Linked DNA regions of Homo sapiens: region 1 is linked to region 2. Evidence: promoter capture Hi-C in 16 types of primary human blood cells and fetal thymus (Javierre and others, 2016). All regions are on one chromosome and are shown on one strand. Each heading gives the region's core, a stretch centred on a gene start or on the middle of the fragment in contact. The rest is flanking DNA. Distances are from core to core; before and after follow the strand shown.

What was found. Contacts are between HindIII fragments. The CHiCAGO score rates a contact against its expected background, and 5 or more counts as called.
Region 1: a contact is called between a fragment that was not itself captured here and the fragment with the promoter of PRPF38B in region 2, in 2 of 17 cell types (M1 macrophages and M2 macrophages). The highest score is 5.5, in M1 macrophages.

The regions. Positions count from the first base shown.
Region 1 is chr1:108,179,026-108,183,632 of GRCh38, reverse strand. SLC25A24 (solute carrier family 25 member 24) reads left to right here. Exons shown (of 10, transcript NM_013386.5): 3 at 1,605-1,692. Among named protein-coding and RNA genes, the nearest start is that of SLC25A24, 19 kb to the left of the region's middle. The HindIII fragment of the contact is 1,252 bases long and covers 1,516-2,767 here.
Region 2 is chr1:108,689,722-108,694,531 of GRCh38, reverse strand. PRPF38B (pre-mRNA processing factor 38B) reads right to left here and starts at 2,222. Exons shown (of 6, transcript NM_018061.4): 1 at 1,665-2,222. The coding sequence starts at 1,940. RefSeq lists enhancers at 760-1,320, 1,971-2,300, 1,883-2,443, 2,381-2,570. The HindIII fragment of the contact is 12,264 bases long and covers 1-4,810 here.

The sequences.
Region 1 (4,607 bases), core at 892-3,391, 510 kb after region 2:
TATGCGTTTGATAAGCTTTGCCCCAAATTCAATGTTAGTGAATCAACAGCACACATTAAATGAGGTGCGTTCAAACAGAAACAGACATAAGACATGGTTATGTATTAATCAGTTGATGAAAGTGTTGTAATCAGAGGCTCACAGGAACCTAACCCTGTTTTTCCTGTAGGAACAATGGTTTGGTATTTGCTAATTCAGTGTTTGCAATGAATATAGAACTTTATGGAAGATGATTGCTGTGAATAATGAGAATTAACCATATCTCTTTAAGAGTGCATTTCTAAAGGAGAATATTCAGAAGGGTATTTGCATAATTTCTTTACTAACAGATGCTGCCTCTCACTGTCCTTACATGGTCCAGATTCTCATGCTGCTCCTTCCCTCTCCCCAGGAGGATTCTCTCAGAATCCTGTCATCTCTCCAGGGTCCTTTCTCCAAGAAAGTCTATCCTTTCACCACTAACAGTAATTTTGGTCTTCCTCTTTTTCTGGAGAAGTCAGCTGTTTATGCTGCTTCAGCACCAGACCCTCTCTTACTTTGTTTTGTTTCATTCTTTTTCATGTACAGTAGTCTTAGGATTCTCATGAGCCTGTGAGCTGCTAGAAGGAAATACAGCAGTGCTTACATTTATTGCTTCTATTTTATTTTCTATTTTCTCTTCCTGTCTTCTGATTGTTCTCCTTCTGTCCACAAACACGCTCTAATTTCCCTAGTATTAAAAATTTTCTGTCTTTTGTTGTTCTTTTATCCTTGCTCCCTTATTTTTACTGCCAGATTTTTATTTTTATTTATTTATTTTTGAGATGGAGTCTCACTCTGTCACCCAGGCTGGGGTGCAGTGGCGCGATCTCAGCTCACTGCAACCTCCGCCTCCCAGCTTCAAGCAATTTTCCTCTTTTAGCCTCCCAAGTAGCTGGGATTATGGGCACCTGCCACCATGCCTGGCTGATTTTTCTATTTTTAGTAGAGACGGGGTTTCACCATGTTGGCCACACTGCTCTCTAACTGCTGACCTCAGGTGAACCACCCGCCTCAGCCTCCAAAAGTGCTGGGATTGCAGGTGTGAGTCACTGTGCCTGGCCTTTTACTGCCAGATTTTTAAAAGAATAGTCTGTGCTTTAGCTCTATTTCCTCATTTACTACTTCTCTTTAACTCAGTCATATATGATGTTTTGCATAGTAAATGTCTAGTAATTTATTAAAAATGTAGAAATAGGTACTTTTAAAATGAATAGATCCTACTTTAATTGAATTTATCTTGGAGTTAGAATATCTTGATTTGGATTTTAGTTCTGCTACTTCTTAATTACATTACTTGGTAAGGCCACTTGTGAAGTCAGTCTCTTTGGAGGAATATTATTTATCTATAAGGCTGTTACAATTACTGAATTTTAAAAAATGTGTATTTATTTTTTAATGTATTTGTTACATTTTTAGTATTGATGTTGGGATAGGCATTTAAGCAAGTCTATAACTCACCTACATGCACAATTTTGCCTTAATCAGTTTAAAGCTTTCTCTTAAATGAGAGATTTGAAATTCATAATTTCTGTGGTTCTTACCAGTTCTGAGTTTTATTTTTTGCCCTTTTTATTTTTTTAAAGGAAAAATTGAGGCTTCAGAAATTGTCCAGTCTCTCCAGACACTGGGTCTGACTATTTCTGAACAACAAGCAGAGTTGATTCTTCAAAGGTAAGCTCTTCATGTTGGTCAACAATTGACTTTCACTTTAATATTCTGCATTAGAACTCTGTGTTTGTAAGTGTGGCTTTAAAACACCTCCCTAGTCTTCATTATGTATATCCAAGATCTTTTTGTCTTTTTTCCTCCCATTCATTTTGTATGTGTACATTTATCTAAAGTGTAAGAATGGGAAGTGTAAGCTCAGACTGGACTCTTTCTTTCAAGGCCTCAAAGGATAGTGGAATGGCAGGAAGTAAGGTTTTAACTCCATAGATGAGGAGCTGAAGAGTTTTGGTGTTGCTTTTTCTCCATTTGATTTCTAATGTGACAGTAAAACTCATTGATTCAAACTAAGAAGACTAGCAGATTCATCACATTATTTAACCTAGATGTGACTGGAAAAAAGGGAAATTACTAAGCTCTCCAAGCTAACAAAGAAATACCTGTTTAAACTTTCAGAAAACAGAAATGCAAATTTGAACCTTATTGTCTGGGGCAATCAGTTTGACTATTTAAGTCAGACTTTTATACTCTTAATGTTTTGTTTCATGGGATAGAGCAGTAATCTCTGCAGCCCAGGTGCTCTCAAATACTCTGTTGCTATAAACACAGGGCAGGAACTGATTTTTTATGATAACGTAAAACAGAAAGGACAATTATATTGTATTAATATTGTTGTGAATATTTTCAGTCCTCACATTGTCTAAAAATCTTTCTAAATGGCTTTGTTATTGAATTTATCTCATTTTATATCTGTGCCAATAGCATTTTCATCCTTTCTCTCTCTTCATAATTTCTTTTACAAACAGCTGCTCAAGAGGAAGGCTCAAAGTCTCAAGGCTGAGCACGTAATGACTTTTGTTAGTACTAGATGAGAAGGGCTTTCCTGAGGAAATGAAAACCTAAAACATGAAAAGAAGATAAACAGAATTTGGACAGTGAGATATAGAGCATATAATATTCTGCTTCTAAAGTAATATTCTTATAGGAAAGTGAGGGCTTTTCCCTGGCTGTTAGGCCAGAAATCATATTCCTATATTTTCTTTGATAGCTTTAGGAATAATGCAAATTCTAAGCCCAAGCTTCAGAATAGACTAAGAAGTATTAGCTTAGCTGCCATGACAAAATACCATAGGCTGGATGCATTAAACAATGGAAATTTAGTTTTTCACAGGTCTGGGAGCTGGAAGTTTAAGATGAGAGTGCCAGCATGGTTGGGTTGTAGTGAGGGCTCTCTTTCTGGCTTGCAGATAGACCCCTTCTCACTGTATTGTCATATGGCAGAGAGAGAGAGAGAGAGAGAGAGAGAGAGAGAGAGAGAGAGAGAGAGAGATCTTTCTCTTGCTTTCTATTATAAGGCCATAGTCCTGTTGGATCAGGGTTCCATTCTTATGACTTTATTTGACTTTACCCCCTAAAGATGCTATCTCCAGATATAATCACACGGTGGGTTAGGGCCTCAACATTTGGATTTGGGAGGGACACAGCTCAGTCCATAGCAAAGGATAATGCAGAGGGTTGGATATTTAAAAGTAGCTACACAATTTTTAATATAAATATTTTATGGTAACTTTTTTTTTTTTTTGAGATGGAGTCTAGCTCTGTTGCCCAGGCTGGAGTGCAATGGTGCGATCTCAGCTCACTGCAACCTCCGCCTCCCAGGTTCAAGCAATTCTCCTGCCTCAGCCTCCTGAGTAGTTGGGACTATAGGCACGCGCCACCACGCCTGGCTATTTTTTTTTATTTTTACTAGAGACGGGTTTGCACCATATTGGTCAGGCTTGTCTCGAACTCCTGACATCAGGTGATCCACCCATCTTGGCCTCCCAAAGTGCTGGGATTACAGAAGTGAGCCACCGCACCTAGCCAGCAGCTTTACTGAGATGTAATTCACATGCCATAAATTCACTTTTCTAAAGTATACAATTCAGTGACTTAAAACATTTATTTATTTTTAAATTGACAGAATTACATGTATTTATCATGTACAACATGATGTTTTGAAGTATATGTACATTGTGGAGTGACTAAGTCTAGCTAATTAACATGATACATCTCATACTTAATGATTTCTGTGGTGAGAACACTTTACATCCATTCTCTTAGTATTTTTCAAGAATATAATATATTATTATTAATTGTAGTCTTCATGTTGTATAGTGGAGCTCTTGAACTTATTCCTCATGTCAAGCTGAAATTGTGTGTCCTTTAACACAAACCATACCCGACTCCCAAAGTATTCTGCTCTCTGCTTCTATGAGATTAACTTTTTCTGATTCCACATGAGTGAGATCATGCAGTATTTATTTGTCTTTACCTGGCTTATTTCATTCATATTGTTACAGATAACAGGATTTCCTTCTTTTTTTAATGGCCGAATAGTTTTCTATTGTATATATATAGCACATTTTCTCTCTTCATGCATTGGTGGACACTTAGGTTGATTCCGTATCTTGGCTATCGTGAATAGTGCTATAATGAACATGGGAATGCACATGGCTCTTTGACATATTGATTTCATTTTATATATGTGTATATATATATGTATACACACACATACATACAGTGGTGGGATTGCAGGATCATATGGTAGTTCTATATTTAATTTTTAAAGGAACTCCATACTGCTTTCCATAATGGCTGTATTAGTTTAACTCCTCACCAACAGGGTGCAAAAGTTCCCTTTTCTCTACATACTTGCCAACACTTGTTATCTTTTGTCTCTTTGGTAATAGTCATTCTAAGTGTAGTATGAGGTGATATCTCATTGTGGCTTTTATTTGCATTTCTGTGGTAATTAGTGATATCGAGCTTTTTTTTTTTTTTTGTACTTTTTGGCCATTTGTATGTCTTTGAAAAATGTCTATTGGGGTTTTTTGGTTGTTTATTTGAGGTTTTTTGTTTTTATGTAGGCATTTACTGCC
Region 2 (4,810 bases), core at 973-3,472:
CAAAATAAAATTACAAAGTTGGAAACTTATAAATTTCAGTGAGTATTTGATCTGAAAGTCTTAAGTCTTCTTAATATTAGTAAAAAAACTGGGTCTTTAGTTTTTTAACGGAATTTAAAAACAATTCCTGGTAGAATCTTGTTTCAAAACACATTTGAAACTTAAAAACGAGACTTTCCTCTATTACATTAACATTTTGCCTATGTTAGAAAACAGAACCTGCCGCAGAAAGAGCAGGAACCCAATTTTCAACTGTTTAAAGTTTACTGCATAAATAAAGCTAAGGATTAAATGTTATTCACCATACTGTATCCATGCTAAAAAGGTCTTACCTTTTAAAAGCTAAAAAAACTAATTCATAGAATTACAATCAGACCTACTCTCGTAAGAGGATTCCAAATTTATTTGTGTACTTTATCAACCCAAAGTTGAACTGTATTCAAGAGATGTTTTCTATAAAAAGCAACTAATCTCTCAAAATCCTTCAATAACCTAATTACTCAACTGGGGGAAAAGGTGGGCAAGACAAAAGAGAATGTCCTTTTGTTACCATCTCTACACATACGTTCAAATGATAGAAAACACTTTGTGCGGTCTGTCAAGTTTTTAAGAGTGAATATAGACAAAAATGGATTGTGTATTAGATGCTCCGGATAAAATTTTTAAAGACCACTAAGGCTATTATTAATATTCTTTAAAATAGAAATTAACTTTCGGAGGCCTGGAAGGTATTTTTTATACTACATAATTTGCAGGGAAGTGGAAAAAGCCTACCTAATTGGTGAAGGACCAAAAGCAATGGCCAAAAAAACCCACAAAAATCTAATTAGTCGTTCATTTAACCAGGGAAATGCATTTATGGCGATTGAGCATGATTAATAGTGCATACCTCTACCTGCGACCCTGGGCTGCTCCGAGCCTCGCTGCAAGACTGAGTCAATCCTGCTAACGAAACAAGAACTGAGACAAGAGTGCAGTGAGGAGGCGCCAGGTGAGCTCCCCAGCACAGCCAAGCCAGCACCGACCCTGCCGCAGAAGCCCAGGGCCCAGATAATTCTAAATTAGCCCAATGCACAGGTGGCTGAGACCTCTTACTCCTGACTTCCTGCTGGGAAAATTTCCAGGCCTTCTGTACACCTCTTGAAATGGCACCTCTCCACCCTCATCCCCCCACCCCACCCGACACACACGCACTGACCATTTCCCTGCCTGGATCGGATAGTGAGTACCAACAACACGAGGCCAATACTGAAGTCATTACACGCCCTGGCCAGGGGTGAGCGGGAGAAGCACCAACAAGTTGGCGCTCAGCAGATCCACGTCAAAAGGAATAATTTTAAAGCTGTAAACTGGAAAGGCTTCTGTTACTCTTTCCTCCTCTCCCCCATCCCTCTTGCCCAACTCCCCCCAGGGGTGGGCAGGAGGTTGGGGGAGGAGAGAGATCAATAGTGGCGGGCTCTCCCGGCCCTAAAAATCTAAAATGGAAACGAGAGGGCGGCCCCAGTCCGACCCCTCCCAGACACACTACAGGCCGCAGCCACCCCTCCGCCGAACCACCTTCCCCCACCCACAAATCTTCAGATTTCGGGGGCCGCCTTCGCCCGTTTCCTCCATACCCCCTCTTCCGAACTTACCCCCAAAGCCAAGGCCTACACACTTCGTACCTTAAAGTAGATCTCGTCCACCACCTCGTGGTAGGTCTTGAGCTCGTAGAGCTGTACTTTGAAGTAAGGCGACGACAGGATGTTGGTCAGGATCATGGGGTTGAGGTTCATGGTCTTCTCGTTGCCCCAGAGCGGGAGCACATTGCCCTGCTTGCCGGAGACCGCCGGCTTGGTAGCGCCGCCGCCGCCGCACTGCTGCTGTTGCTGAGCCGCAGCTGCAGCCGCCTGGTGCTGCGGCTGCGAGTTGCCTGTCAGCGCGGGGCTGTTGTTAGCCATGTTGCGGCGGAAGGAAGGAGGGAGGGAAGGAGGGGGGGGAGGGGGCCAAGCTCGATCTCGCTCTTCGGGACAACGGTCTGGGACCCTACTCCATCGAACGTCGTCGGGAGAAGGGGCCGCCTCGCTGTGCCCCAGCTGGGCAAGAGAGGGCACCCGACGCCGACAAAATGACCCCGGGCCAAGAGCAGACAGCGAAACCCAGACCGCGAGAACTCCACGCAGAAGGCGAGCCGGCAGCCAGGGAGCTCGATCTCTTCCGCCAACTGCCCCTGGGAACAAGATGGCGGGCCCGGCGGATATGACGCCACGCACCCCAGCGTTCCAAGCTGAGCTGGCGGCCAATCAGAGACGCTCAGTTGGGCTGGAGCGTCCTCTTCCTAGGTCCCCGCGTTCTCTGCACGCTGAAGTCGCTGCAGTGACCTCCGTACCTGACTCTTAGGGGATTTCTCCTGAGAATTTGGGGGCCGGGGGAGAGGGTTGTAGGCCTAATCCGTTGTTGTTGTATTTTGACTGGGGGCTTGATTTCTTTTGTCGGGAGCTGAGCCAGGAAGGGTTCGCATGGCTGCGGTGTGCTTGCTAATATCGTCACTCTGACTTCTGCAGAGTATCCGAGAGGGGTCTCCTGGGATCTCAGTTTTAAGGTTCTCTGGAAGGTACAATGGTCAGGGACCCCACTCCTCCAGGAGATTCTGATCAAAGGTCACGTACTTCGCCAGCCTCTAGTGTCCAGCCAGAAGTCTTAAATTTATTCATCCGTAAGATTGAGATAACATCTGGCTGGGCTGTTGTGAGCATTGAAAGAGCTAATGTACTTGTAGTGCCTAGTAGACTGTTCCAGGCATCTGGTAGGCGCCTTTTCTTTTTCTCCCTGCTCCAGATCTTTGGATTCTAGGAATGTATCCGGAGTGATAAACATTGGGCGAGATACTGTATATTGGGAGTGGGTGTGTGAATGTGTGGGGAGTTTGAATGTGGCAATCTTGACTTCAGTGGCGCATACACAGGAGGAGAAAAGGATAAGATGGAAACTTTGGGGAAAATCCACATCTGGATGAAAATAAACCAGAAGAGGAGAGAGAGAGAGCGAAGACCAGCAGAAAAGTATTTAAACCAAGAGACAGTTGTTTGACAGAATACAAGGAAATAGAAAAGATAAGTGAATGGAGTGATTGATTAGTGTTTGGAGCTGTACGGTACGAAAGTGGATATCCTGTCTGGTTCCTTTGTTTTAGGTTGCAAGAGAACTAGAACCCTGAGAGGAGAAGCAGTTTTCACCTTCTTACTAGCAAATCTTGTTTTTCTCTATAGTGGTTTTTATTAACTTCCAAAGGAAAACTGAAGATCCTAACCCCTGTGTCATGAGTTATCACGTTAAAAGTCCATAGAAAAAATTTTTTTTAACCCAGTTCTTTTTGTGTATATATTTTTTGCCTTGATAATACTAGTTTATTGAGTTTGCCGAGTGACACATTGCCAAATCTTATGCCCTATTTTTAATTCCTCAGATACATGATCTTTCTGTATAGTCTTAGACAGTCTTTACCCCTAGTCTGTTTGGATGAAGAGCTTGGTAGAGAGGTTGAGTTTGATATCTAAGTGTCAGCGGCATCAAACTCGGAGCCAGGTATTATGATAAAGTGCTTTAACATATTCAGTGAATCCCTACAACAGGCTGAAGATGTTATTTTTATCCCCATTTTTTAGAAAACTTTATTCAGTTATAATTGAAGACCTCTACGCTGCACATATATAAAGCCGTAAGTTTGGTTTGATCAGTTTTGACATATATGTATACCCATTAAACCACTACTACAATAAACATAATCTTCTGTCAATCCCAAAAGTTTTCTTGTGCCCTTTGTAATCCATCTCTCTTTCCAACCTCATACCGAAGCAACCACTTTCTGTCAGTAGAGACTAGTTTGCATTTTCTTGAATCTTAAATAAATGAAATCATTATCCCCACACAGTGTTCTCTTTTTTTTTGCCTCCTTATTGCATGTATCAGCAGGTTGTGTTTTGTTTTAATTACTGATTAGTATTCAGTTGTATGGATTTATCACTATTTTGTTTATCTAATCATTGATGGGAACAGCATTTTTATTTGTAATAGCCCCAAATTAGAAACAACACAAATTGTTGTTGAAAATGCTGTGAACATTTGTGACTAGACTGTCTGGATTTTTTTTTTTTTTTTTTGAGACAGAGTCCCACTCTCTGGCCCAGGCTGGAGAGCCCTCTTTCAGCAGGAAGTAGCCAGATAGACTTGACATCCCTCTTCACTATGCTATTTTCTCTTTCTTGAGACCATGATATGCAACAGGCTGACTTGAGCATGGGGGAATATAAAGGGTCCAAGATTTGACCAAGTTATTTGTCAGGGGAAAATGACCAGAGCAAAATTACCTGGTGACCATCCAGCAGGCCCTGGAGACAAAAACTTCTTATCTGAGGAATTCAGAAGTAATTAGACTTTCCTGTTATGTAACACAGGCATCTGGTTCCAGTTTTTTTTCCCCAAAATTTATAAGTAACTAGAATTTCTATACATCTCTTGAATGCATGCATATCAAAACTCATTGTGTGACCCTTGCTGACATTAAGGCACCAGAATGTCTACAAATGTAATCACTTATCATGACCTACATGGCTAATATGGTCCAAATTGCCCGTAAGCTCCCTCTTTGAGGTCCATAAATATCCCTAAGGAAAAATTCACTGGCACACTCAGTCCTCTCTTTCTGAGGCGCCCCGCTGCACTCTTTTGCAGCATTCTATTTAATAGAAGTTTCCTTTTTAAACCTATACTGTTGTCTGTAAATTCTTACCAACCCGTGAGTTGACCACTTTCTAGTGCTAGGGCTCTGACA